2 separate regions of the Homo sapiens genome follow, and region 1 is linked to region 2. The links are contacts of gene promoters, found by promoter capture Hi-C in blood cells and fetal thymus (Javierre and others, 2016). All regions are on one chromosome and are shown on one strand. Each heading gives the region's core, a stretch centred on a gene start or on the middle of the fragment in contact. The rest is flanking DNA. Distances are from core to core; before and after follow the strand shown. Region 1 has its middle 14 kb from the start of PLP1. Region 2 holds the start of RAB40A (RAB40A, member RAS oncogene family).

The links. Contacts are between HindIII fragments. The CHiCAGO score rates a contact against its expected background, and 5 or more counts as called.
Region 1: a fragment that was not itself captured here is called in contact with the fragment with the promoter of RAB40A in region 2 in 1 of 17 cell types (total B cells); the score reaches 6.1 in total B cells.

The regions. Positions count from the first base shown.
Region 1 is chrX:103,759,086-103,766,280 of GRCh38, reverse strand. No RefSeq gene overlaps it. Among named protein-coding and RNA genes, the nearest start is that of PLP1, 14 kb to the left of the region's middle. RefSeq lists an enhancer at 1-390. The HindIII fragment of the contact is 177 bases long and covers 5,074-5,250 here.
Region 2 is chrX:103,516,340-103,523,363 of GRCh38, reverse strand. It overlaps RAB40A (RAB40A, member RAS oncogene family), which reads left to right and starts at 3,875. Exons shown (of 3, transcript NM_080879.3): 1 at 3,875-3,994; 2 at 5,839-5,990. It overlaps LL0XNC01-250H12.3 (a long non-coding RNA gene), which reads right to left. Exons shown (of 6, transcript NR_188440.1): 6 at 5,421-5,716. The HindIII fragment of the contact is 4,467 bases long and covers 334-4,800 here.

The DNA.
Region 1 (7,195 bases), core at 3,913-6,412, 240 kb before region 2:
GCAGGCTTCCACCCTCCATTCCTCCTTCTTCTCCCTTAGCCTGTGTTCTCAAGAACTTAAAACCTCTTCAACTCACACCTGACCTAAAACCTAAATGCCTTATTTTCTTCTGCAATGCTGCTTAACCCCAGTACAAACTCGACAGTGGTTCCAAATAGCAAGAAAACGGCACTTTCGATTTTTCCATCCTACAAGATCTAGATAATTCTTGTCATAAAATGGGCAAACGGTCTGAGGTGCCTGACATACAGGCATTCTTTTACACATCGGTCCGTCCCTAGTCTCTGTTCCCAATGCAGCTCCTCCCAAATCTTCCTTCTTTCCCTCCTGCCTGTCCCCTCAGTCCCAACCCCAAGTGTTGCTGAGTCTTTCCAATCTTCCTTTTTTATGGACCCATCTGACCTCTGCCCTCCTCCCCAGGCTGCTCCTCACCAGGCCAAGCCAGGTCCCAATTCTTCCTCAGCTCTGCTCCCCCACTCTATAATCTTTTGATCACCTCCCCTCCTCACACCCAGTCCAGCTTACAGTTTCGTTATGTGCCCTCCCCCACCAGCCCAGCAATTTCCTCTTAAAATGGTAGCTGGAACTACAGGCATAGTCAAGGTTAATGCTCCTTTTTCTTTATCCAACCTCTCCAAAATCAGTTAGCGTTTAGGCTCTTTTTCATCAAATATAAAAACCCAGCCCAGTTCATGGCTCATCTGGCAGCAACCCTGAGACGCTTTACAGCCCTAGACCCTAAAAGGTCAAGGGCCGTCTTATTCTCAATATACATGTTATTACCCAATCCGCTCCCAACATTAAATAAAACTCCAAAAATTAAATTCCAGCCCTCAAACCCCACAACAGGACTTAATTAACCTCACCTTCAAGGTGTACAATAATAGAGTAGAGGCAGCCAAGTAGCAACATATTTCTGAGTTGCAATTCCTTGCCTCCAGTGTGGGAGAAACCCCAGCCACATCTCCAGCACACAGGAACTTCCAAACACATAAACCGCAGTGGCCAGGCATTCCTCCAGGACCACCTCCACCAGGAACTTGCTTCAAGTGCTGGAAATCTGGCCACTGGGCCAAGGAATGCCCACAGCCCAGGATTCCTCCTAAGCTGTGCCCCATCTGTGCAGGTACCCACTGGAAATTGGACTCTCCAACTCACCCGGCAGCCACTCCCAGAGCCACTGGAACTCTGGCCCAACGCTCTCTGACTGACTCCTTCCCAGATCATCTCAGCTTAGCGGCTGAAGATTGATGCTGCCCAATCACCTCAGAAGCTTCCTGGACCATCACATACGCTTTGGGTAACTCTTACAGTGGAGGGTAAGTCCGTCCCCTTCTTAATCAATACGGAGGCTACCCACTCCACATTACCTTCTTTTCAAGGGCCTATTTCCCTTGCCCCATGACTGTTATGGTTATTGATGGCCAGGCTTCTAAACCTCTTAAAACTCCCCAACTCTGGTGCCAACTTGGACAATATTCTTTTATGCACTCCTTTTTAGTTATCCCCACCTGCCCAGTTCCCTTATTAGGCTGAGACATTTTAACTAAATTATCTGCTTCCCTGACTATTCCTAGGCTACAGCCACACCTCATTGCCACCCTTTTCCCCAGTTCAAACACTCCTTCACATCCTCCCCTTGTATCTCACCACCTTAATCCACAAGTATAGGACACCTCTACTCCATCCATGGTGACCGATCATGCACCCCTTATCATTCCATTAAAACCTAATCACCCTTACCCAACTCAACGCCAATATCCCATCCCACAGCAGCCTTTAAAAGGAGTAAAGCCTGTTATCACTTGCCTGTTACAGTGTGGCCTTTTAAAGCCTATAAACTCTCCTTACAATCCCCCCATTTTACCTATCCAAAAACCAGACAAGTCTTACAGGTTAGTTCAGGATCTGCACCTTATCAACCAAATTATCTTGCCTATCCACCCCATGGTGCCAAACCCATATACTCTCCTATCCTCAATACCTCCCTCCACAACCCATTATTCTGTTCTGTGTGGCAAACATGCTTTCTTTACTATTCCTTTGCACCCTTCATCCCAGCCTGTCTTCGCTTTCACTTGGACTGACCCTGACACCATCAGGCTCGGCAAATTACCTGGGCTGTACTGCCACAAGGCTTCACAGACAGCCCCCATTACTTCAGTCAAGCCCGAATTTCTTAATCTGTTACCTATCTCGGCATAATTCTTCATAAAAACACAGGTGCTCTCCCTGCCGATCCTGTCCAACTGATCTCTCAAACCCCAACCCCTTCTACAAAACAACAACTCCTTTCCTTCCTGGGCATGGTTGGATACTTTTACCTTTGGATACCTGGTTTTGCCATCCTAACAAAACCATTATGTAAACTCACAAAAGAAAACCTAGCTGATGCCATAGATCCTAAATCCTTTTCCCACTCCTCTTTCCGTTCCTTGAAGACAGCATTAGAGAATGCTTCCACACTAGCTCTCCCTGACTCATCCCAACCCTTTTTCATTACACACAGCCGAAGTGCAGGGCTGTGTGGTCGAAATTCTTACACAAGGACTGGGACCGCTCCCTGTGGCCTTTTTATCCAAACAACTTGAGCTTACTGTTTTAGCCTAGCCCTCATGTCTGCATGCGGCAGCTGCCTCTGTTTTAATACTTTTAGAGGCCCTCAAAATCACAAACTGTGCTCAACTCACTCTCTACAGTTCTCATAACTTCCAAAATCTATTTTCTTCCTCACACCAGATGCACATACTTTCTGCCCCCCTCCACTACCTCTCAGCAAGCCGAACTCATTGCCTTAACTAGAGCCCTCACTCTTGCAAAAGGACTACGCATCAATATTTATACTGACTCTAAATATGCCTTCTATATTCTGCACCACCATGCTGTTATAAGGGCAGAAAGAGGTTTCCTCACTACGCAAGGGTCCTCCATCATTAATTCCTCTTTAATAAAAACTCTTCTCAAGGCTGCTTTACTTCCAAAGGAAGCTGGAGTCATTCACTGCAAGGGCCGTCAAAAGGCGTCAGATCCCATCGCTCAGGGCAACGCTTATGCTGATAAGGTAGCTAAAAAAGCAGCTAGAGTACAACTTCGTCCCTCAAGGCCAGTTTTTCTCCTTCTCATCGGTCACTCCTACCTACTCCCCTACTGAAACTTCCACCTATCAATCTCTTCCCACACAAGGCAAATGGTTCTTGAACCAAGGAAAATATCTCCTTCCTGGTGGGTGCCTGTAATCCCAGCTACTCAGGAGGCTGAGACAGGAGAATCCCTTGAACTCAGTAGGCTGAGGTTGCAGTGAGCCAAGATCATGCCACTGCACTCCAGCATGGGTTACAGGAGCAAGACTCTGTCTCAAAAAAATAAATAAATAAAATAAAATCTCTCTTATTTAAAAAAAAAAAAACAAAAAGAAAAAAAAAGAAAATATCTCCTTCCAGCCTCACAGGCCGATTCTATTCTGTCGTCATTTCATAGCCTCTTCCATGTAGGTTACAAGCCACTAGCCCGCCTCTTAGAACCTCTCATTTCCTTTCCACCGTGGAAATCTATCCTCAAGGAAATCACTTCTCAGTGTTCCATCTGCTATTCTACTACTCCTCAGGGATTGTTCAGGCCCCCTCCCTTCCCTACACATCAAGCTCGGGGATTTGCCCCTGCCCAGGACTGGCAAATTGACTTTACTCACATGCCTCGAGTCAGGAAACTAAAATACCTCTTGGTCTGGGTGGGTAGAGGCCTTTCCCACAGGGTCTGAAAAGGCTACTGCGGTCATTTCTTCCTTTCTGTAAGACATAATTCCTTGGTTTGGCCTTCCCACCTCTATACAGTCCAATAACGGACCGGCCTTTACTAGTTAAATCACCCAAGCAGTTTCTCAGGCTCTTGGTATTCAGTGAAACCCTCATACCTCTTACCATCCTCAATCTTCAGAAAAGGTAGAATGGACTAATGGTCTTTTAAAAACGCACCTCACCAAGCTCAGCCACCAACTAAAAAATGACTAGACAATACTTTTACCACTTTCCCTTCTCAAAATTCGGGCCTGTCCTCGGAATGCTACAGGTTACAGCCCATTTGAGCTCCTGTATAGACACTCCTTTTTATTAGGCCCCCGTCTCATTCCAGACACCAGCCCAACTTGGGCTGTGCCCCAAAAACTTGTCATCCCTACTATCTTCTGTCTAGTCATAATCCTATTCACCGTTCTCAACTACTCATACATGCCCTGCTCTTGTTTACACTGCCGGTTTACACTGTTTCTCCAAGCCATCACAGCTGATATCTCCTGGTGCTATCCCCAAACCGCCCACCACTCTTAACTCCCTCTTAAAGTAAATAAATAATCTTTACTGGCAGGGCTATGCTGAACCTCCTTGGGCACTCTCTAATTGGATGTCCTGGGTCCTCCCAATTGTTAGTCCTTTAATACCTGTTTTTCTCCTCTTATTCGGACCTTGTGTCTTCCGTTTAGTTTTTCAATTCATACAAAACCGCACCCAGGCCATCACCAATCATTCTATACAACAAGTGTTTCTTCTAACAACCCCACAATATCACCCCTTATCACAAAATCTTCCTTCAGCTTAATCTCTCCCACTCTAGGTTCCCACGCCTCCCCTAATCCCGCTTGAAGCAGCCCTGAGAAACATCGCCCATTATATCTCCATACCACCCCCCAAAAGTTATTGCTGCCCCAACACTTCAACACTATTTTATTTTATTTTTCTTATCAATATAAGAAGACAGGAATGTCAGATCTCTGAGCCCAAGCCTGCATATATACATCCAGATGGCCTGAAGCAAGTAAAGAATCACAAAAGAAGTGAAAATGGCCAGTTCCTGCCTTAACTGGTGACATTACCTTGTGAAATTCCTTCTCCTGGCTCATCCTGACTCAAAAGCTCCCCCACTGAGCACCTTGTGACCCCCACCCCAGCCAGCCAGAGAACAACCCCCTTTGACTGTAATTTTCCACTACCTACCAAAATCCTATAAAACAGCCCCACCCCTATCTCCCTTATCTGACTCTTTTCGGATTCAGCCTGCCTGCACCCAGGTGATTAAAAAGCTTTATTGCTCACACAAAGCCTGTTTGGTGATTTCACATGGACGCGCATGAAACCTAGTATGGTGCCTTGTTTGTGGCTGGCCTTTATTAAATAACCAGAGAACATCCTCCCATCTCTGTTCATATATATAGGAGGACAGTAGGATCATTGGTGTTCTTGAGATTAGGTCCTTCAAGCTTTCATCCAGGAATTACAATAGAGGGCTGACTTGGTCCATCTGGACATCCATCCTGTTGTTCATCCCACAACCACCATAACCACCAGCATAGTTTCTACTCCTCCTCTTAGAAAGCCCAAATTCCAACAAAGATACAATGTCTCTTTCCCTTTCCCCAGCAGCCCTGATGATACAGTCTCTATTTTTAAAGAGAACCTCCCTCAACTTCTTCTCCAAATAGGAGCTAATGAATAGGAAAGAAAGTATTGCCAGGCCCAGTGGTTCATGCCTGTAATCCCAGCACTTTGGGAGGCCAAGGTGGGTGGATTGCTTGAGCTCACAAGTTCAAGACCAGCCTGGGCAACATGGCAAAACCCTGTCTCTACAAAAAATACAAAAATTTGCCAGGTATGATGGTGCGTACCTGTAGTCCCAGCTACTCGGGAGGCTAAGGGGGAGGATGGCTTGCGCCCAGGAGGTGTAGGTTGCAGTGAGCTGAGATCATGCCACTGCACTCCAGCCTGGGCAACAGAGACAGACCTTGTCTCAAAAAAAAAAAAAAAAAAGTATTAATTGACATCAAATTGAAACATTTTTAAGGCAGTGACAAATGTTACTAGAGCCCCTCACTGGAAGGAGAGTGGAGTTTCCCAAAGCATGACCAGAGATTGTCATCTCCACTGGATGGTGAAAGGTCTAATGTTAAAAAAAAAAAAAAAAAAAAAAAAAAAAAAAAAAAAAAAATCTGCAGGCAAATATATTTGGGGAAGCCTGGGTTAACCAAAGTTTTTTGTTTTTGTTTTGTTTTGTTTGTTTGTTTGTTTGTTTGTTTTAGTGTCTCTGTAGCCAGGCATGGTGGTACGCACTTCTAGTCCTAGCTACTTGAAGAGTCTGAAGCAGGACTGCTTGATCCCAGGAGTTTAAAACTGCCATGAGCTAGGAGCATGCCACTGCACTGTCACCTGGGCAATAGAGTGAGACACTGACTCTTAAAAAAAATTTTTTTTCGGCAGGGCGCGGTGGCTCAACGCCTGTAATCCCAGCACTTTGGGAGGCTGAGGGGGGCGGATCACAAGGTCAGGAGATCAAGACCATTCTGGTTAACACGGTGAAACCCCGTCTCTACTAAAAAATACAAAAAAAATTAGCCGGGCATGGTGGCAGGCGCCTGTAGTCCCAGCTACTCTGGAGGCTAAGGCAGGAGAATAGCGTGAACCCAGGAGGCGGAGCTTGCAGTGAGCCGAGATCACACCACTGCACTCCAGCCTTGGTTACAGAGCGAGACTCCGTCTCAAGGAAAAAAAAAAATAATGATTTTTTTTTGGCCGGGCACAGTGGCTCATGCCTGTAATCCCAGTACTTTGGAAGGCCAAAGTGGGCAGATCACCTGAGGTCGGGAGTTCAAGACCAGCCTGACCAACCTGAAGAAACCCCGTCTCTACTAAATATGCAAAAACTAGCCAGGCGTGGTGGCATACGCCTGTAGTCTCAGCTACTTGGGAGACTTTACAAAACCTCCACTATGCTAACATGCATTATGGCCTCTAAAAGACAGAGATGATAGAGTTTGCAGCTTGATGCCATTAGTTAAGTACTTACTGTGTGCTAGGCTCTGTACTAAGTGCTTCACTTGCATTAATCCTTATCAAATCCAATAGATATTGCTGTTATCTTCGTTCTTTAATTCCTTCCCACATTCCAATAGCCCAAGGTCTGGCTTGAGTTGGCAGGCTTCTTGTCTCAGTTACTAGCATCCGGCTCCCTCCTGGCCAGTGTCTTCTTGGCAGCATTTTCCCTAATCTCACCCTCAGGAACTAGTCCATGCTCCATCCTCATCCTATCCCAGACAAATGTCAAAGTCCCAAGTGAAGCTATAACTACCTGATATGGTTTGGCTCTGTGTCCCCATCCAAATCTCACCTTGAATTGTAATCTCCATAATCCCCATGTGTCAAGGGCAGGAACA
Region 2 (7,024 bases), core at 2,626-5,125:
TCTGTACTACTAGGACTCTCTATCCCTCCTATTGCCCTGTCCCCAGACAAACACAATACTTTGTCACTATAGATTAAGTTTTATGTCCTAGACATTTATTTAAATGGAATTGTAGAAATGTTTTTCTGCGTTTGTTTTTGATTTTTGGTTTGGCTTCTTTCATTCACCCAATTTATTTTTAGATGTATCCATTTTGTTGCACATATCAATAGTTCATTCTTTTTTATTGCTGAATAGTATTCCAGTATATGGCTATATCATAAATTTTTTATCCATTCACCTGTTGTTGGATATTTTAATTATTTCCAATTAGGATCTCTTGTAAACAAAGCTTCTATGAATATTTGTGAATAAGTCTTTCCATGGAAATAGGCTTTCTTTCTCTAATAAATACTTAGGAGTGCAATGGCTGGATCATGTGGTAGATGTAAGATTAACATTGTAAGAAACTGCCTGTTTCCAAGTGTTTGTACCATTTTTCATTACCACCAGTAATGTATCACTGTTTCATCCTCCACAACCTCGACAGAGCTTGGTATAATCTGTCTTTTTAATTTTTTTAATTCTCACAGGAGTTTAGTAGGATCTCATTGAAATTTTCATTTACATTTCCCTTATAACGAGTGATGCTGAGCATCATTTCCTGTGCTTACATGATATTTGTATGTCTTCTTTAGTGGAATGTCTATTCAAATATTTTGCCTGTTTCTTTACTGGTGTGTGTTTTCTTCTTACTAAGATTTTAAACATATTCTGGATACAAGTCCTTTATTAAATATATAATTTTCAAACATTTTACCCCGGTCAGCAGCTTACTTGTCTATTTTTTCAACCATGTAGTTGGAAAGCTAAAGTTTTTAACTTTGAGGAAGTCCAATTTTTCAATTTCTTTGCTTATAGATTGTGGTTTTGTTGTCTCATCTATGAAATCTTCACCTGACCCATTGTCAAAAAGATTTTCTCCTGTTTTTTTTTTTTCTGCTAGAAGTTTTATAGCATCAAATTTTATATTTAGATCTCAGGTCCATTTTGAATAGACTTTTGTATATAGTGTGATATCTGAGTCACAGTTTATATTTGTGCATGTCAATATTCACTTGTCCCAGCACCATTTGTTGAAACAATAATCCTTTCTCCACTGAATCACCATTGCATCTTTGTCAAACTCAGTTGTCCATATACTTGTGGGTCTATAGCTGGACTCTTTATTCTGTTCCTTTGATCTACTAATCCATCTTGATGCCAATAGCACACTGTCTGGATTACTGTATGTTTGTAAGGAGTCTTGAAATCAGGTAGTGTTTGTCTTCTAATTTTGTTCTTTATCAAAGTTGTACTTCATAGTTGATATGGTTTGGAACTGTGTCCCTACCCAAATCTCATGTCAAATTGTAATCCCCAATGTTGGATATGAGGACTGGTGGGAGGTGATTGGATCGTGAGAGTGGATTTCTCCCTTTGGTTCTGTTCTCATAATAGAATTCTCATAAGATCTGGTTGTTTACAAGTGTGTAGCACCTTCCCTGCCATGTAAAACGCCTGCTTCCGCTTTACCTTTCGCCATGAGTTAAAGCTCCCTGAGGCCTCTCCAGAAGCAGATGCCTCTATGGTTCCTATATAGCCTGCAGAACCGTAAGCCATGAAAACCCCTTTTTTAAAATAAATCACCCAGTTTCATGTGTTTGTTTTTAGCAATATGGGAACAGACTAATAGAGTCTAGGTCTTTTACATGTCCATATGAATGTTAGAATCAGCCTGTCGGTTTCTTTAAAAATTTTTTAATAGGATTTCCATTTGAATTGCTCTGAATCTATAGATCAGTTTTGGAAGAATTGACATCTTAACAATACTGAATCTTCTCAGTATTGTTTGTGACCCATGAGCATGGTAAGTCCTCCACTTATTTAGGTCTTTAATTCTCTCAGCAATGATGTGTGGTGTTCAGTGTACAGGCACTGCACATCTGTGGACAGATTGTTCATAAATATTTCATACTCTTGATGATGCTATACATGGCTTTGTTTGTTAAACACAATTGCTAATTACTATATTTTCACAGTACTATCAGCAACCAAGTGTTTAACATCAGTGAGGCATTTTTTTGGTTGAAAGCACAGCTTACTCTAGGATGGAAAAGGTATTTGATCCTTAACCTGTGTTTACCTGTATTTCCGTATCTGCTTTTACAAGTCATTGGCGATATATTGAAACTATGGAGGAAAATGTTCCAGAGACAATTCTACAGGTCATCTTCAGAAATCACACCAAAAGAACATAGTTTAGTAGCTTTCAACTTTATATGTGTGGTCAGAAATGATTTTGTTGCAATGTGTGGCTCAGGCTGGAGTGCAATGGTGCAATCATAGCTCACTGCAGCCTTGAACTCCCAGGCTCAAGCAATCCTCTCACCTCAGCCTCCTGAATAACTGACTACAGGTGTGTGCCCCCATGCTCAGCTAAACTTAAAAACATTTTTCAGAGACAGAGTTTTGCTATGTTGTTTAGACTTCTCTCACACTCCTAACCTCAAGCAATCCTCCTACCTCAGCCATCTGAGTAGCTGGGATTATAGCCACGAGCCACCATGCCTGGCGAGATTTACTTCTTTACCCACCAGTAAATCAACCTCAATAAATTCTTGGAATTTGGAGTGGTGAGAGGGTGAGCAAGCATATATGTATGTGAGTATGTATACATTTGTATGTCACTGAAGCTGTCAGGAATTTTTATTGTAAGGACTACTTGAGGTTAATTACTGTGCATCATGTCAATCCTATTTAGTTCCTAGTACATATTAGGAACAAGCTCGGGATAGTGGTGTTTGTTTTTTCTCAGCTTTCCTTGGCCAGAATGGTTACCATGGTGACTCAGTGACTGCGGTGTGATTTGGTGCAGACTGAGCATCCATTTAGGATTCTTGCCCGAATCTCTCACACCACATTGCCTGTCCATCAGATATAGTATTAGCTTTTCATCTTATGTGTAATTAATCACTTTTCAAGGGCTCAGAAGAAAGTTGCTTCACTTATCTGAGGTTAAGCTACAGATAACATAAAAAGACACTAAGTACCTTGAAATAAAAGGAAATGAGTTGTTGATATTCCTCTCCTGCCCCAATCTCTATTGGGAGGTTAGAAGAGAAATTCTTGGAATCATACAGCATGTGCTCTTTTGTGTCTTGCTTCTTTCAGTCAACATAATGTATGTGAAATTAATATTTATTGTGGTCTATATTGTAGATTGCTTATTCTCATTGGTGTAAAGTATTATATTATTTGGATATTTCACACTATATTTATCTGTGATGGAGATTTGTGTATTTTCCAGTTTTTGACATCTCATGAATAATGGTGTTATGAATGTTCATGTTCATTCTTTTGGATGAACATATATTTTCTTTTTTAAAAAAATCTTATTATCAATAATATTTGAACTATTTAATATCTGTCATCTTAAAATTATTATTCATAACACTTTTTACCTTGTAGCTATAGACAAATACATTCCCATTTTAGCAGGTTAATGAAATTATCTTTATAATACTATAGAAGCATTTATTTGAAGAATACCAGAAGGAACATCCTGAAAACCAAGAACTCAAAATGCCTTTTTATCCCAAAGACATGTTTTACAAATATATACCCATTCATCCATTTGTTTTCACAAATGAAGCTACAGAGAACTTTGAATATAATGATGTGCAGCAGGGGCTTATTCCTAACATATTTAAAATTTAGGTCAACCAAACTTCTCTGTGGAAACTGAGTTGAAATCCGAAATCTTACAATCCTAATTTCGAGCCACATTCATTTTAACTTAATTTTAACATGTTTTGCAAAATGTTCCAATATAAACTTAATAGTTCCTATACCACCAAACATGGATCCTCATGATTTTATTTTCTAGATTGGCTGATAGGCTGAATAATCTCCTGTAGGGTAAGAAGTGTCAACTGTATCAAGCACATGGAGGTGGACTGGCTACAGGAGAAAGGTTTTCCAAATCAAATTCCAAGTATTTCTTTCTCTTTTTATATTACCATTAGGAGAAATAACTAATGTAGATGACGGGTTGATGGGTGCAGCAAACCACCATGGCACGTGTATACCTATGTAACAAACCTGTACATTCTCCACATGTATCCCAGAACTTAAAAGTATAATAAAAAAATTTAACAAAATGGTGTTAGATTCAGAGGCTTGATTCAATTTAGATTTGTTTTGGTCAGAAGTACTTCATATGTGGTATTGTTTATTCCTATAGTGTTACACAGGGGGCTCATTGTGTCTAATTGTCTCTCCTCTTGTGATGTTAAGATTAATTACTATGTTCAAGTATTGTTAAGCTGATCCATCCATTATAAAATTTCCCATCCCTTTTTCACCTCGATTTTTCTGCAGCGTCTAAGGATTGTTGCTTAGTTCTATATTCATTAAAGGTCATAAAAGGATGATATTCTAATTCTATAATTTTCTCTGCTTTATTAGCTGGAATTATTCTATTAAATAAACTTTCATAAACCATTAGGTTACACTGAGGGATAGTATGTATAGAAAGGGTTGGATGAGTGCCTAATTCTTTTGCAATATTTCCACTTTTCAAAACAATGAGTTGTTTCCCTAGGGTTCTCCAAAGGCAAGCAATGAGTTGATATTGTTTGTTTTATTTTATTTTTCTTTTAGAGTGTCATCATGAGCTGTAGAAGTTTTTATATTATAATGTGTTTTAATCCATAGTAGTCATTATTTTATTTAATGTTCAAATTGCTTCATCTTTGTCCAGCGAGAGCCCCTTAAGCTTGGCTTCTGAGTCTTTTTGACGCACTCTCTGGCATGATAGTTTGGTCCAGATTCATCTAGTAGAATGGCTACACAGACCTAAACTCAGTCATTTCTCTAAGATAACCTAGTTCCTTTCAGTGTGATGTGTTTTAAGTGGATTCAATATGGGCACTAGAGTTGCTCATTGCTACTGGGTCTATCATGTTTCTTCACCTTTCTAGTGCATGGAGCCAGTGTATATATATTATATTTTTAAGGGAAAAGACATTATTGGCTTCTGTCCTGGGCTGTTTTTCCTTCTCTTTATAGGTAATGATTTTTTAAATCAATTTTCATTAAAACTTTCCAATTTTAAAAATATAAGCAAATAGAATGTTTCTATTAGTTTTCTCCTATTCCATATATATAAGGTGACATATTCTACACTGGTGGAGTCCAATAGAATTTCTACAAAGGTGAAAATATTCTATGTCTCAACTGTCCAACATAGTAGCCACTAGCTACCTGTGACTATTAAACACCTAAAATGTGGTGAGTGTGACTGAGGAAGTGAATTTAAAATTCCATTTAAATTTAGTTAACTTAAATAGCCATGAGTGGCCAGTGGGTATGGTATGGGACAACAGCAGCTCTACACATTTTTCTGCACTTTGCTTTATTCACTTAATGGTATATCCTGGAAATCACTACATAGCAGCAGAGAGAGGGAATCTTCCTTGCTTGTTATACCGGCATTGAAATCTAGGATGTAGATGCACCTTAGATTATTCAGTCAGTCCTTTATTGGTGGACATCTGTCTTATTTCCAGTCTTCTGCTGTTACAATTTGTTCTGCCAAGAATGACCTTGTGCTTCTGCCTTTTTATCTTTTTGAATTGTATCTTTGGGATACATTCTCCGAAGATTGTTGGTTCCAAGATAAAATAATTGTGCCCTATGAAATAGAAGATTTGAAACAGAGAGCATTTAGAAATATAGTAGCAATAAATGAATGTTGGTTTTATCTTATCATTCCTTTGATTCCATGTACTCTCTGCTCTCTTATTTTCTTTCTAGTGTGACGTGGGTGAAGGAGTTCTTATTGAGCCATGGGAGGAAGAAATAGTACAGAAGAGCAAAGAATAATAATGAGTCAGCTAGACAGAAGACAGGAGTCATCAGATTTGTACCCTAGTTACTCGACCCATCAACTGACTGTGGTTTTTGGGGTGAGTCTCTTCCCTCTGTTGGCCTCTGGTCTAACACAGAAGGATACTCAGTATAGAAATAGTGGTTAGGGGAGGGGGCTTTTGGGTGAGAAGGACTTGGATTTGACCCTGATAACCATTACTTGCTGGTTGCATGATCTGTATCAACCAATTTATCTACCGTGTGCCCTGTAACTATTTATGTCTTTTATTATTATTCCTATCATGCATACAAAGACTGAATGATAAAAGTGGGGATTACTTTGCCAGGTATTAAAGTGTTCTTTGAGCGTATAATTTCATAAGTTTTGGACAGAGTGGTTGACATGCAGGTTAAAGAAGTCTAAAGAAAGCTCTTGAGTAGACCCTGGCATATAACGTCATTTAAGATGCTGCAAGTATGGCATTTCTACTCAAATGCATTGTTAAGGAATTGGGTCTGGGCCAGCTGTAAAGGGTTCATTAAAAAGCAAAGTTAGATTATATCTTATACCTTGTCATGTACTTAGAATGTTTCATCCACATGTTAGTACTTAAGACAAAAGCAAAACTGAAAATAACAACAAAAAACCCAGGATGCTATACTGTACATATAATTATAACAGCTTTATGAATTGTATTTGTAATGCATGTACAGTACATGTGCATATATCCATGTATAAAAAATCCTTAGAAAGATCTAGTACCATGTTAATTTTAATTATGATGGGATTGCTGGCTATTGATATTTTTAACCTCTGCATTTGGCTCAATATTAAACATTTGCTAAGGTGAGAGTATGGATTGTACATACTCCATACCCCATGCTTGACTTACTATGGGAGTTACATCCTGATAAACTCATTGTAAGTTGAAAATAATTGTAGGTCAAAAATGGGCATTTGTAGACAAGATGAGATGTGAAAATACAATATCAAAAAAATCCTGGCAACACTGTACACTATAGGGTCTCAGTAGTTTATCCTCGTGATTGCATGGCTGACTGGGAGCTGTGGCTCACTGCTGCTCCCTAACCAGCATCACAAGAGTATAATACTGCGTTTTGCTAGCCCAGG